Linked DNA regions of Homo sapiens: all the other regions are linked to region 1. The links are contacts of gene promoters, found by promoter capture Hi-C in blood cells and fetal thymus (Javierre and others, 2016). All regions are on one chromosome and are shown on one strand. The core of a region is centred on a gene start or on the middle of the fragment in contact, and the rest is flanking DNA. Distances in the headings are between cores, read along the strand shown.

Region 1 (2,515 bases), core at 9-2,508:
AACCTATTTGGATCCATTTTGTAGTCTTTTTTGTAATGGAAATTTGCACTTAAAATGGACTAGGACACACATTAGGCAGCTGAAGAAAGTATAGCATAAAAGGAAGAGATGATATAGTCGACAAGTGGCTAGATTTTAGGGTATAGTGGAAATCTTTGCCTGCAGACGTTATAACCTCAGAAGTTACGTTGAGGGGAACTAGGGATTAAGTCTGAAATTCATTAGGCCAAAGCTTTGTTCCTATTTGCCACCTCAGCATAAAGGCAAATGTCCGGCTTGTGTGTGTATGTGTGTTTGTGTGTGCATACACGCATGCGTGCAAGTATTGATACACAAGTCCCATGTCAATCACACAGTCCTTTTTGCTTAAGCTAATTTTCACTAGGAAGAACCCTGCCATATTTTCCAAGGGAATAAATTCATTTTGGGCCATCAAGAGCCAGCCATAATACCACCTAATGAAAAAATCTACAAGATTCTAGTTATTTCTTCACAAAAGTATCTCTTTTTTTATTACAGAGAATGCAACAGAATTGTTCAAACAGCAGAATATCCTTAGAGATGGATCAGCTTAATGAGTCTCTTGAGATTGAGGTTCAGGTCAAGACACATCAATTACTTAAGGTCTTTGGCCTCCTGCCAGGAGAATTTATCACTTCCAGCTCTCTACGTGTGTCCTTCTCTACAATTTCCATTGCTAAAAAGTTAACCAATAAATACAAGCACATTTTAAGTGAGCTTTAAATGTATTTTCCAAATTTGTCTGATATTTTCGTTCTAATAGTTTTGTTTCTGTTATTTTATGCCTGAATCTTTTAAAAACCAAAATTGAGAAGGTGAATATATTTTTTGTCTGTTTATATTGCTTCTTACAGACTTTTATTTATTTTTGGTCCTCATTTTTAAATTATGTTTAATTTTATTCTACCTGTTTCATAATGTCTTAACAAACAGGAACTATGATAAGAAGCATGGGAGCAACAATGGGAGAGTCCATTCTATCATCAGGAAAAGTCTGACCATTTATTCCCTTCACCCATTGTAACGTATATGGATGTGTTTTGGTCAAGGAATAAGCCAAGGCAGATATCCAGGCCTGCATGATTCAGCAAGTTTGTTGCACAGGTGCACACTTCTACTTGTTATATAGATTGTTTGTGTAAGTTCATACTTGGCTCTGAGCCACTATTGTCTGTAAAAGGTATAATTGCCTTGCTAACACTATACAGGGACTTTTGGGGCTTGGCTCAACTCAACATGGCTCTAGTGCAGGCGCTGGTGCCCAGAGAAAGAGAGCCAAAGCTGTCCATTTTGCAGATGGACAGAGGGGACCCACAACACAGCTCACACTGGTGCCCAGAGAGAGAAAAAGTTAAGCTGCTGACCCTGAAGCCAAGGGTGAGCCGGCTATGCAGCTGCAGGCATGGGGGCGGCAGGAGCCACAGAGCCAGAGCACACAGTTGAGATAAAGGTGGACAGTGTGAGAAAGTTGTTAATAAGAACTGCTGCTGAATGAAGTCATCTTTCACCTGCATATGGACCCCCGAGTGTTCTTTCTGTTCATCCACCCACTCCCCTCGGACTTCAGCATGGGCTGGACCTGAACCCTAGGATCTGACACCCATCTCAAGTCCTCTCAGAAGACTAATCAGATATAAACTTTCCCCAGCTGTAAACTGTGTAGCTCCACACAGATCCCCCCCTTGAAGCACTCATTACCTCATAAGCTGGGAGCTATCAGCTGCTGATAGTTCACACCTACATTTCTTTCAGGAATTACCTTCAGCCAAAGGGAACTCTATTACCCTAAATTAGCCACCCTCCGTTTGCAATGATTGTATTTAATGACTAGTTGATGGTGAGTTTAAAGGCCTGACTCCCTTGCCTAACTCAGGACAAGTGTGTAGGACCATCTCTACTCCAGAGTTTCTCGTAAATCAGCTGGGAAGTCTGATGAAACTCCGTTGTAATTCACCTTCTCCCTCTGCAAAATTCTGCTTCCTTTGCACCTGTTGAGACATTGTTTGTGAGCTTACTTTCTGATAAACTTTCAGCATGGAAAGGTCTCAAAGTCAGTTTCTAAGGAACCCAACTTAAGACAGTTGATAGCAGGAATGGCCCCAGAAAGTAGACTCTCAAGTGTGATTATAAGCTGGCAGGCTGGAAATGAGGACCCAGAAAACTGTTTTCTAAGTTGTCCTGAACACAATTAGGACAAGAGAATCCTTACCATGCTAAACCATATGCTTCCCTTTTCTTCTTCTTTTGCTAGTTTAAAAGATACTTTTTGATAGGAAAAATTCACTGAAAGTTAACTAATATTGGTTCTGTGACTTTATTCTGAGTTGGTTCTAGATCTGATCATAGAATCTAGGGAGTGATGTATATTTCACAATGTAGAGTTCATTTTCTTTACTGTCAAGTTTAAGATTCTAGCCCATGTCTGGCAATGGCAACTTTTTTTTCTTGTGAATCCTGATGTTAAATTTTGGAAGGTGAATTATGATACTGTAGT
Region 2 (2,515 bases), core at 9-2,508, 440 kb before region 1:
ATTCTTTTCAGAGGAGATGTAAGCTATGGACAACCATTAAGGAAAACATCAGTAATATATAACAAAAATAGTTAAATAAATTAAATCTTAAGACAGTATTATTTTAGAACAAAAGAAAGCAGAAGAGAAGGAATAGAGAAACATACAAAAATGAGACATATAAAGAGCAAAAAGTAAAATTGCAGATGTAAATCCAACTATATCAATAACACTAAATACAAATGGATTCACAATTCAAAAAACTGAGTTTGTCAGACTTGAAAATTAAGTACGATTGCAAGCAAAATGGCAGAAAAGGAGATATCCTACTTATATGCCACATAGCAACAAGAATTTGGAAGCAATTTGTATATACAAAAGCTCCTTTGTAAAAGCTTTTGGATTAAGGTAGGAGGTTGCAAAACTCTATTGGAGCCCTAAATTGAGGAGAGCTATTTTGAGCTGACAGGCCTGCATTTAGGTGACAGTCTTGCTGAACAGAGTCCTGGACAGAGGCCTGGAAATGATTCATCCCACTATAGACTCAGCTACAACCTGAGTTTGCCCTCAGTCCTTCAAATATAACTATCCGCCAAGGGACTGGAAGAAGTCATGTCCGTCCATGCCTTGGGTAAAAGGCCTTGTTTTCAGCTTTGAAGTAACCATGTAACTCATCTCCAGTCTTTGTCATCTATGGTCTGAGAGTAGTCATTCCTGCACAGGGACCTGTAGGGAGAGAAGTCCATTCATGCGTCTTGAGGCAGGCCTAAATAATAACATTCTGACCACAGATCTTGAAGCCCTCCTGTGATCCAGCTTCTGCCCCACTGAGACACATTCTAGGGATAATCCTGTCTGCCCAGGAACATTGAGGGAGGCATGACCATCTGTGCCTCTGGAGGCAGGCCTGCTGACCTTGGCCTTGGCTGTGGACCTTGAAGCAGCCTTGTGATTTAGTTTCAATCCCTCTCAGTGACAGTTGAGGGCCATTCCAGCCAAGCCATGTGCATAGCCAATGACATAGAGGGAGCCCTCCCAGGGACCTAGAGGAAGCCAGACTTGACTGCACACCTGGTAACATACCTGCCACCTGAAGAGCTAGCTGTGGACCTTGAAACAAACCTTATTTCAGTGCCAGCTCTACTGACCAATTTCCTGGTATTATCTAGTCCATCCAAAAACAAGACAGAGGCCACACTCGCTTTAGCCCCTCATAATACACCCACTAATCACAGATTGCACTGTAGACTCAGCAGCAGCAACATAACTCAATTCCACACTAACTCAACTCAGATCTTACAGGCAACTTCATCAGCCTGGACAACCAACAAAAGAAGGTCTTTACTTTCAAAATCAGTCAACAAAGTCTAGAAGAGATGTTTTCTCCTTCAAATGTGCAGACACCAATGCAAGGCTACCTGCACAACAAAGAATTAAGCAAGCATAACACCACCAAAGAAAACTACTAAAACTTCAGTTATTGACCCCAAAGCAATGGCGATTGACAAATTACCTGACAAATAACTCAAAATAATCAGCTTAAAGAGGGTTGATGAAATGCAAGAGAACACAGATAAACAACTAAACACAACGAAGAAACAATACAGCAACAAACAAGAAGTTTAATAAAGAAATAGAAACCATAAAAAAGAACTAAACAGAAAACCTAGAGTCAAAGAATACAATAAAAGAACTGAAAAATACAATAGATATCTTCAACAGCCAACTCAATAATACCAAGAAAAAAATTATTGACCATGAAGAAAGTCATATAACATTAATAAATTAAAGGAACAAAAAGAAATAATGATTTTAAAAAACTGTTAAGAAAGCATAAAGAACCTATGGGAACCACCAAGCAAACAAACATACGAATTATGAGATTCCCAGAATGAGAAGAGAGAAAGAAAGGGACAAAAAAGCATTGGTAAATAGTGTCTGAAAATGTTCCAGATGTTGGGAGAGACACAGGCATCCAAATTAGCAAAGCTCAGATGACCTCTCATAAAATCTAACAAAAGAAGAACACCCCAAAATATGATAATCAAACTGTCAAAGGCCAAATAAAAAGAGAGAATCTTGAAAGCAGCACACGAAAAGAGACTTGCCACTTACAAAGAAATGTCTACGAGGTTATCAGCAAAATTCTCAGCAGAAAGCTTGCAGGCCAGGAGAGAGTGGTATCAGATAGTCATTTTTTGTCCAAAGAAGAGAAATAAATGACCAACAGGCATAAGAAAAGGTTTTCAATATTATTAATTATCAGAGAAGTGTAAATCAAAACCACAGCAAAATATTGCCTCATATCTATTAGGATGGCCATTATCAAAATGACAAGACATAAGAAGAGTTGGCAAAAGTTTGGAAAAAAAGGAACCCTTTACACTGTTGATAGGAATACAAATTGGTAGAGTCATTCGGGAAAACAGTGTGAAGATATTAGAAAAACTGAAAAATGAAACTACCATACAATCCAGTAATTCCACTTCTAGGTATACATCCACAGGAAATAAAATCAGTATTTCAAAAAGATATT
Region 3 (2,515 bases), core at 8-2,507, 400 kb after region 1:
GAGGCCAGAGGATCCCCCTGAGGGGACAGAGACCCATTTTTAAGACTAGATACAGCAGGATAGGAGGTATTAGCCTGAGTGAGTAGGGTGGGCAAGAGGAGAGGAGACCTGGCTTGTCCTGGTCCCATGCCTGCCTCATTTGGAGAAAACAATCTGCCCCCAGTGCCAAAAGCTCCTCCAGCTCCCAGCAATCAGGGTGAACTCAGGAGATAGGAGTCAGGGGGCCAACTCCAGACCTGGTTCTGTTACCAACTGGCTATGAGATTGCTCACTCCAAAGCTCAGTTCCCTCATCTGTAAAGTGGGTTGGTACCACCTACCTCCCAAGTGTTCGAAAAATCAAGTCAATTGGGGAACATGAAAGAGCTTCCCAAACTACAATCATACAAAATTCACTAGAAACATCACAAGTTTGATGCAGGAAGGGAAAGGCCATGAGAAGCCACCAGTCCAACATCTACCTTCTATGGAAGAGGAAATAAGAGTCCCTGGCCCAAGGGCACTTGCCAGAACCTGTGTCAGATCTCAAGCTTCTTGACTCGCTTCTCCTCTCTGCTTCCTTTCGGTGTACCCAGGCTGAGGCCTTGTACACTCAGTTTCCCAAGGCTGGGTGGTTGGGGTTGGTGTACAAAAAGGAGTTACAGATTAGAAGCTCTTAGAAGTCCTGCCCAAAGTTAGAGTGGATTATGCAGCCTGCAAACCAATGGTTAGCAGAGGAAGGGGTTGACTGAGAGCATCAGCTTGCAACTCCACCCCCCACCCCCAACAGAGGGGTGACAGTACATTTCATATGGCCTGAGGAAAGGCTACCCAACCTACAGCCTCTGCAGCTGCTGGATGATCCCAGGGTCAAAACAGAAGCCATTGGCACGGATTCCAGTGCCCCCAGCAGCAGTTACTATGCATTTCACAAGCCCTGAGGACAGACTCCCCTGCCCCACAGCCACTGCCACTGCCAAAGCACAAGCAAAGTGCATGCTCCCCAGCTCCCTGCCTACTGCTGCCAAAGCACAAGCAAAGTGCATGCTCCCCAGCTCCCTGCCTACTGCTGCCAAAGCACAAGCAAAGTGCATGCTCCCCAGCTCCCTGCCTACTGCTGCCAAAGCACAAGCAAAGTGCATGCTCCCCAGCTCCCTGCCTACTGCTGCTGCCACTGAAAGCAACCCTGTGCTCCCCAGTAGCAGGGTGGCAGTGACACCTCCACCCCAACATACCACCAGGAGCCTAGGGATCACCTGCCTCTGCCTAACACAGCCAGTGCCTACACACACTACTAAGGGGCCTAAGGAGCCAGGCCTGGCTCCACTCCTCCTTCCCAGTGCCTAAGCATGTCATCTTTGGGTATGGGAATCACCCAACCCAGTTCATCACCTTTGGCACCCAAACACTTTCCCAGGGCCTGAGATCAGGCCCACCCAACCTGCCTCTACCACCACAGCTGACACCCACACATACGTACGCACTATGTGCCTAGGGACTGGCCTCCCAAGCCCAATGCAGCCACCAGAAATTATTTAATAAAATCATGTATCAATAATAACCTTGAATACAAACAGATTAAACTTTCCAAATAAAAGACAAAGACTGGCTAAATGAATTAAAAAACATGACCCAACTATATGCTTCCTAAAAGAAACTCACCTTATGTATAAAGACACATATAGATTTAAACTAAAGGGATGAAAAAAGTCCATGCAAATGAAAACCAAAGGCAAGCAGGAATAGCTGTACATATAAGAGATAAGACAGACTTTAAGTCAAAAACAATAAAAAGAGATAAAGACAATCATTATATAATGATAAAGGGATCAATTTGGCAAAAGAATATAACAATTCTAAACATATATGCACCCAACATCAGAGCACCCAGATATATAAAGCAAATATTATTAGATGTAAAGAAAGAAGTAGACTCCAGTACAATAAGAGTTGTGAACTTCAACACCCCACTCTCAGCATTAAACAGATTATCTAGACCAAGCTTGTTCAACCTATGGCCTGCAGGCCACATGCAGCCCAGGATGGCTTTGAATGCAGCTCAACACAAATTCATAAACTTTCTTAAAACATAATGAGAGCTTTTGCAATTTATTTTAAGCTCATCAGCTATTCGTTAGTGTTACTGTATTTTATGTGTGGCTCAAGACAATTCTTTTTCCAATGTGCCTTAGGGAAGCCAAGAAATTGGACACCCCTGATCTAGACAGAAAATTAACAAAGAAACATTGAATTAAAACTGCACATTATACCAAATATACCTAACAAAAATTTACAGGACATTTCATCCAACAGCTACAAAACACACATTCTTCTCATCAGCATATGGAACATGCTCCAGGATAAACCATATGTTAGCACACAAAACAAGTCTCCACAAATTTTTAAATATCAAAATCATATGAAGTACCTTCTCAGACCACAATAAAATAAAACCAGAAGTTAATAACAAGAGGAATGTTGGAAACTGCACAAATATATGGAAATTAAACAACATGTCCCTGAATGGCCATTGGATC
Region 4 (2,515 bases), core at 8-2,507, 380 kb after region 1:
CACGCCTGTAATCCCAGCACATTGGGAGGCCAAGGTAGGCAGATCACCTGAAGTCAGGAGTTTAAGACCAGCCTGGCCAACGTGGTGAAACCCCGTCTCTACTAAAAATTCAAAAATTAGCCGGGCGTGGTGGCGGGCACCTGTAATCCCAGCTACTCAGAAGACTGAGGCAGGAGAATCGCTTGAACCTGGGAGGGGGAGGTTGCAGTGAGCCGAGCCTGTACCACTACCCTCTAGCCTGGGCAACAGAGCAAGACTCTGTCGCAGAAAAAAAAAAAAAAATCCCAAAATAAATTAAACACTGAGAGAAAAGATCGGTAATATATAACACAGATACATATGTAATATCGCTAATATATAAATAACTTTTTCTACTCGATAGAAGTTTCAAAAACCTGATATAAAAATGGTCAAATAGTCAAAGACATAAACAGACCATTGACTGAAAAAAGAATTAAAATGTCCCGTAAACATGTGAAAAAACATTCAGCCTCAACTATAATAAGAGAAATGCAAATTAAAATAACACTGAGATATTATCTCTCACCTAGCAGATTGGCAAAAATGTAAACATACACTAACACGTTCTGTTGGCAAGGCTTGAAGAAAGTAGATGCTCAAGCATTTCTGATGGGAATGGAAATTAGTACAACCTTAATGGGGGAGAATTTGATGATATCAAACAAAATGGCACATGCTTTTCCCCCTTTTTATAATTTATCCTGGTAATACATATTCAAATATATACAAAAATACATATGTTTAAGGATTTTCATTGTAGCATTGTTTATAATTGAAAAATATTAGAAACAACCAAAATGACTTTACATAGGAAAATGGTTGAATGAACTATGGTACATCATCGAATGGAATAGTCTGCAGCTATAAAAATGAATGAGGATGACATCTATAAACTGATATAGAATGGCTCCCAAGATATGCTGTTAAATTTAAAAAGCAAAGTGTGAGAAAGTGTTTATGGTATGCCACGTTTTGTGCAAGAAAGAAAGGGGAATAAGAAAATATATATTTGTCTGCACAACTATACAAAAAGAAACTTAGGAAAGGAAACCCAGAAACTAATGAGATTGGTTCCATACAGGAGTGGGTGGAAATGGAGTGACTAAAGTTGCAGATAGCAAAATAAGTCACTTTTGTCAGACCCGAGCAAACTGGAGCCAGAACACACAAAGGAGCACAGCTCATGCTTGCACATCTGAGATAAGGACTATTTCAAGGACTTTCTAAAATAACTCCACGAGAAATTCCTTCATCTTTTATACATCTCATGCTTTTCATGATCTACATTTTACATGCATTTTACATTTTACATGCATGCACATATTTCTATGACCAGGTTTATCACTATACATTCTTTAGGACTGTAGCAATTCTGATAAGATGCTAGGCCGATGCCTAGCAGTGGCATCTCCACCAATGAACTGATGCTAATTCTAGCTTTGAGCCTCCAGAACCAATGAACTCTGTCTCCAAGCAGCTTACATAGCTTCTCCTTGCCAGTAAAAATTTCCCTTTACCTTTGGCTTGATGTACCTGTACCTATGGCTTGCTACAGCTGTGCTTCCCAGATTATAATCCTTTTGCTTACTCCCGAATAAACTCAACATATTAGGATATATTTTTCTCTGATGTCTTTTTTTAGCCTGATGGGTGAAAAGAATAAGATGGTGGGAGCAAGGTAGAGAAGATGGAGGGCAGTGACACTTCTCTGAGTTCATGTTTTTGTACAGATCTGTTCTGACTTTTACAACCATGTTAATGTTTCATGTACTCAGTTTTTCAGTAAATACAATCAACAAGGATAAAAGGAGGAAACATTAGCATTGAATACATATGGAAGCAAGTGTACCGAACTGTAGGTTAAGTGAATGACAAAACACAGTACGGGTAGGGGGTGATAACAGAAGTTTTGAAGCAGTACTTTGCCTCTGTATTCTCAGGCTAGGGCAAAAAGACAGTAGCAAATATTGAACTCTGTTTAATAGATTTGTTTCCCACACCAGCATGAGTTAACAATTCTGAAACTACATTCTGTGTATTCTAGGATTAAGCAAATAAGTAAATATACTGTGGGTAACTGAAACCAGGTTTTTCACGGTTGGAGAAGGAAATTACATATATGGAAAGAGAGAAGGTTAAAATGAACTCTAGAGTGTTGGATTGGAACTGGTCATATCAGTATGAACTCATGGTTTTTAAGAAAGATAGGTAGGTAAGTAGGTAGGTAGATAGATGAATGGATTTGCATGTGTGTGTGTGCATATTTACATAATATATATACTACACACACATGTGTGTATATGTATGACAGGGCCTAAAAATAACAACACTCTGGCAATGAACAGACCTATTCCAGGTCTTGGTTTGTTTTTATACACAATTCTCTGCTAAAAGGAATCAGGGTTTCTTAGAAAAATACCAGATTACAGAGTTTGAGCCGGGAAAGTACAAGATGAGCCTGGAATATCTTGTAGTAACAGAAAGTAAGGAAGTG
Region 5 (2,515 bases), core at 10-2,509, 360 kb after region 1:
TCTTCTGTTCCCTCTAGACTCTAGTGCCTATGGCCAACCTTGGAAAGGCATGGCCAAAGCACCTGTGTGAGCCACTGCTACAGAATCTGGAGGAGCTGACATAGAGAAGAAACTCAGGTTCCTCCTGAAGGACCCATCCATGGAGAGGTCCTCCCAGATACCCTGGGGCGAGGTGATGAAGACCTGGGACAAGGCCCTCAGCCACAGGAAGAAGATGACCATGAAGAGCTTGGGGAAGCAAATGCAGAGAAAGGCCTGTGTGTGTGGTAAGTGTGGGAAGGATTTGTGTTTGCGGCAACCACCCTCTGCTGTTCTCCCTTTGCATCCTGCCTTCTTTCAGTTCTAGTTTTCCCTTTAGATCCTTTTTTTCCTTTCACCTCCTCATCACCCACCCCTTCACTTCCCTCCACTGTTTGCCCACCATCCCTTTTCCTCCTGTTCCTCATTAGCCTGTGTGTGTGTGTGTGTGTGTGTGTGTGTGTGTGTGTGTGTGTGTCCTTGATTACCTCCACCTGTTCTTTCCACTTGCCATTTCAAAGGTGAAATGTCCTGCTCTCACTCAGAGATAATGTAGCTCCTCACTAGGTGGAAAGCCAGCATATTTTCACATGTTCAGTGACCTTGCCTGGAAGGAAGTAAAAGTCAGTTGACCCCAAAAAGCCCATCGCCACCACCACCACCTCAAGACCAGAGTTCAGGGGCCATGTTCTGGGTCAGTGACCTACTGGTATCACCAGAGTGAAGCTGAAAGGGGCCAAGAAGATGTATAAGCAATTCCAGGAAGGTCTGTAATAAGACTTTGAGGAGAGCCAGAAAGAACTTTCCCCTCCTTGGCCAGAAGCAATGCACGCCACAGAGTTCTGAGGGAAAGGGCCCTAGCGCTGCTTTCCTGGGGAGTGAGGCGCACACTCCACACCCACCTGAGTCCCCTGTCCACTGTTTCCTGGATCCGGTTTTAGTCTGTTGTGCAGCTTCCCTAATAAGGGGTAAGTGTTTCTTTGGCTGGCTGAAAGAGGCCTGCTCCTTTCCTGGTGCTATGAATCCAGGTGGGACTGCAGTGGCTCTTCTATGGCCATTGACTGTGTGAGCCCCACGGTAAGGCGGGGAGGAGGCAGGACAGGATGCAGGCATCCAAAGACACCACTGTGAGCTCTCTGAGGGGTCAGAAGACACAGAGAGCCATCCCTTATCACTTAGGAAATTCTGAGTTATTGACAATAAATGTGGCAGGGTACAGGAGGAGAGAGCTCTTGTAATTAAGTGATTGCTTCAAATATATCACCGCCCTCTAGAGATGGGAAATACCTAGACCAAGAATTCTTTCAGAGCCATATCTCAGATACGACAGGACTTCCTGTCGTAAGATAATAAACAGTACCATACTTTAAAAGCCAGTATTTCTAGTATCATAGTATTACTGTGTTTCTCTCTGTTTATCCCTGAGCCCCAGGGAGGTCTTGTTAGAGTGTACCAGCACTGTGACAGCTGGCAGATGGGGCACTGAGAGCCGGAGGAGGTGAGGACCGGTCACTCCACAGGCCTCCCCGACGTCTGCAGCGCTTGTAGGGACATCTAAGGGGCCAGTGTGACTTAAATACACTGCATAAGTTTGAAATGCATGTAGTTTTAGCTTTTGTTAAAATGGTTTTCCTTTATAGTCAGTTTTGAGGGTTTTTTAAATGTTATAAACATCTTTTTCATTGTTACTACTTTTTTTCCGTTTTCGTCCATCCTAGAAAAAAAAAATGTTGCCCTCAAAATTATCTTGTCTTTCTGCAATTGCCTTTGAGAAGGCTCATCTTCTCCAGACACATTATCATCTGAAATCAGTAGACAATCTTGTATTCTGTGACTGAACCCAAGTTTATTTCATCCAAACAACTTCAAACACCCAAGCAACAATATATACCTAGTATATTTTAGGACATCAGTAATGTCCTTTAAAAAGTGAACCTTTTTTTAAGCTACATTTTCTCATGTGTGTTCATTGAGGTTCTTACAGAAAGCTGCACTGCACGGTTGTCGGCCCTTTTTAAAGTCAACAGTTGACTCAGAAATAAAATATACTTAAAAATCTTATTATTTCTTATATTTTAAGTTCAGTTTTTAAAACTTTCTAAAAAATGTTACCGGTCATTTTTAAGTAGCCATTACAACCTAGTTAATAAGTCTTCATAAAAAATTCAAAGTGTTTATAAATAATTACAGTTTTGATTTCCTTAAATATAGAGATTGATTTTCATTTTAAAAATGTTTTAATAAGTTTCTAACTAGTTCTTATAATCTAATAAAATAAATTTAGAATTATAGTGGATGTGAGGTTCTCATACATGTTGTTAACATAACTTGCTGAAATATTATTACACATTTCAATTTAAAATTACTTCTTGGTAATTATTTATATGCACATTTAAAAGTTGACGTCAGGCATGGTGGCTCACTCCTATAATCCTAGCACGTTGGAAGGCCGAGGCAAGATCACTTGAGCCCAGGAGTTCTTGATTAGGCTGGGCAA

Evidence for each region. Contacts are between HindIII fragments. The CHiCAGO score rates a contact against its expected background, and 5 or more counts as called.
Region 2: a fragment that was not itself captured here is called in contact with the fragment with the promoter of C11orf40 in region 1 in 1 of 17 cell types (erythroblasts); the score reaches 5.9 in erythroblasts.
Region 3: a contact is called between a fragment that was not itself captured here and the fragment with the promoter of C11orf40 in region 1, in 8 of 17 cell types (M2 macrophages, M0 macrophages, M1 macrophages and 5 more). The highest score is 11.8, in M2 macrophages.
Region 4: a fragment that was not itself captured here is called in contact with the fragment with the promoter of C11orf40 in region 1 in 8 of 17 cell types (M0 macrophages, M1 macrophages, M2 macrophages and 5 more); the score reaches 8.4 in M0 macrophages.
Region 5: a contact is called between a fragment that was not itself captured here and the fragment with the promoter of C11orf40 in region 1, in 8 of 17 cell types (M1 macrophages, M0 macrophages, M2 macrophages and 5 more). The highest score is 10.4, in M1 macrophages.

The regions. Positions count from the first base shown.
Region 1 is chr11:4,576,563-4,579,077 of GRCh38, reverse strand. C11orf40 (chromosome 11 putative open reading frame 40) reads left to right here and starts at 1,258. Exons shown (of 4, transcript NR_172945.1): 1 at 1,258-1,398. The HindIII fragment of the contact is 3,404 bases long and covers 235-2,515 here.
Region 2 is chr11:5,020,180-5,022,694 of GRCh38, reverse strand. No RefSeq gene overlaps it. Among named protein-coding and RNA genes, the nearest start is that of OR52J3, 25 kb to the left of the region's middle. The HindIII fragment of the contact is 1,764 bases long and covers 377-2,140 here.
Region 3 is chr11:4,177,840-4,180,354 of GRCh38, reverse strand. No RefSeq gene overlaps it. Among named protein-coding and RNA genes, the nearest start is that of LINC02749, 8.1 kb to the left of the region's middle. RefSeq lists enhancers at 561-1,087, 1,088-1,615. The HindIII fragment of the contact is 1,451 bases long and covers 532-1,982 here.
Region 4 is chr11:4,195,673-4,198,187 of GRCh38, reverse strand. All of the region lies in intron 1 of LINC02749 (long intergenic non-protein coding RNA 2749), which reads right to left. Among named protein-coding and RNA genes, the nearest start is that of LINC02749, 9.8 kb to the right of the region's middle. The HindIII fragment of the contact is 3,403 bases long and covers 1-2,515 here.
Region 5 is chr11:4,212,767-4,215,281 of GRCh38, reverse strand. No RefSeq gene overlaps it. Among named protein-coding and RNA genes, the nearest start is that of SSU72L5, 19 kb to the left of the region's middle. The HindIII fragment of the contact is 2,918 bases long and covers 1-2,515 here.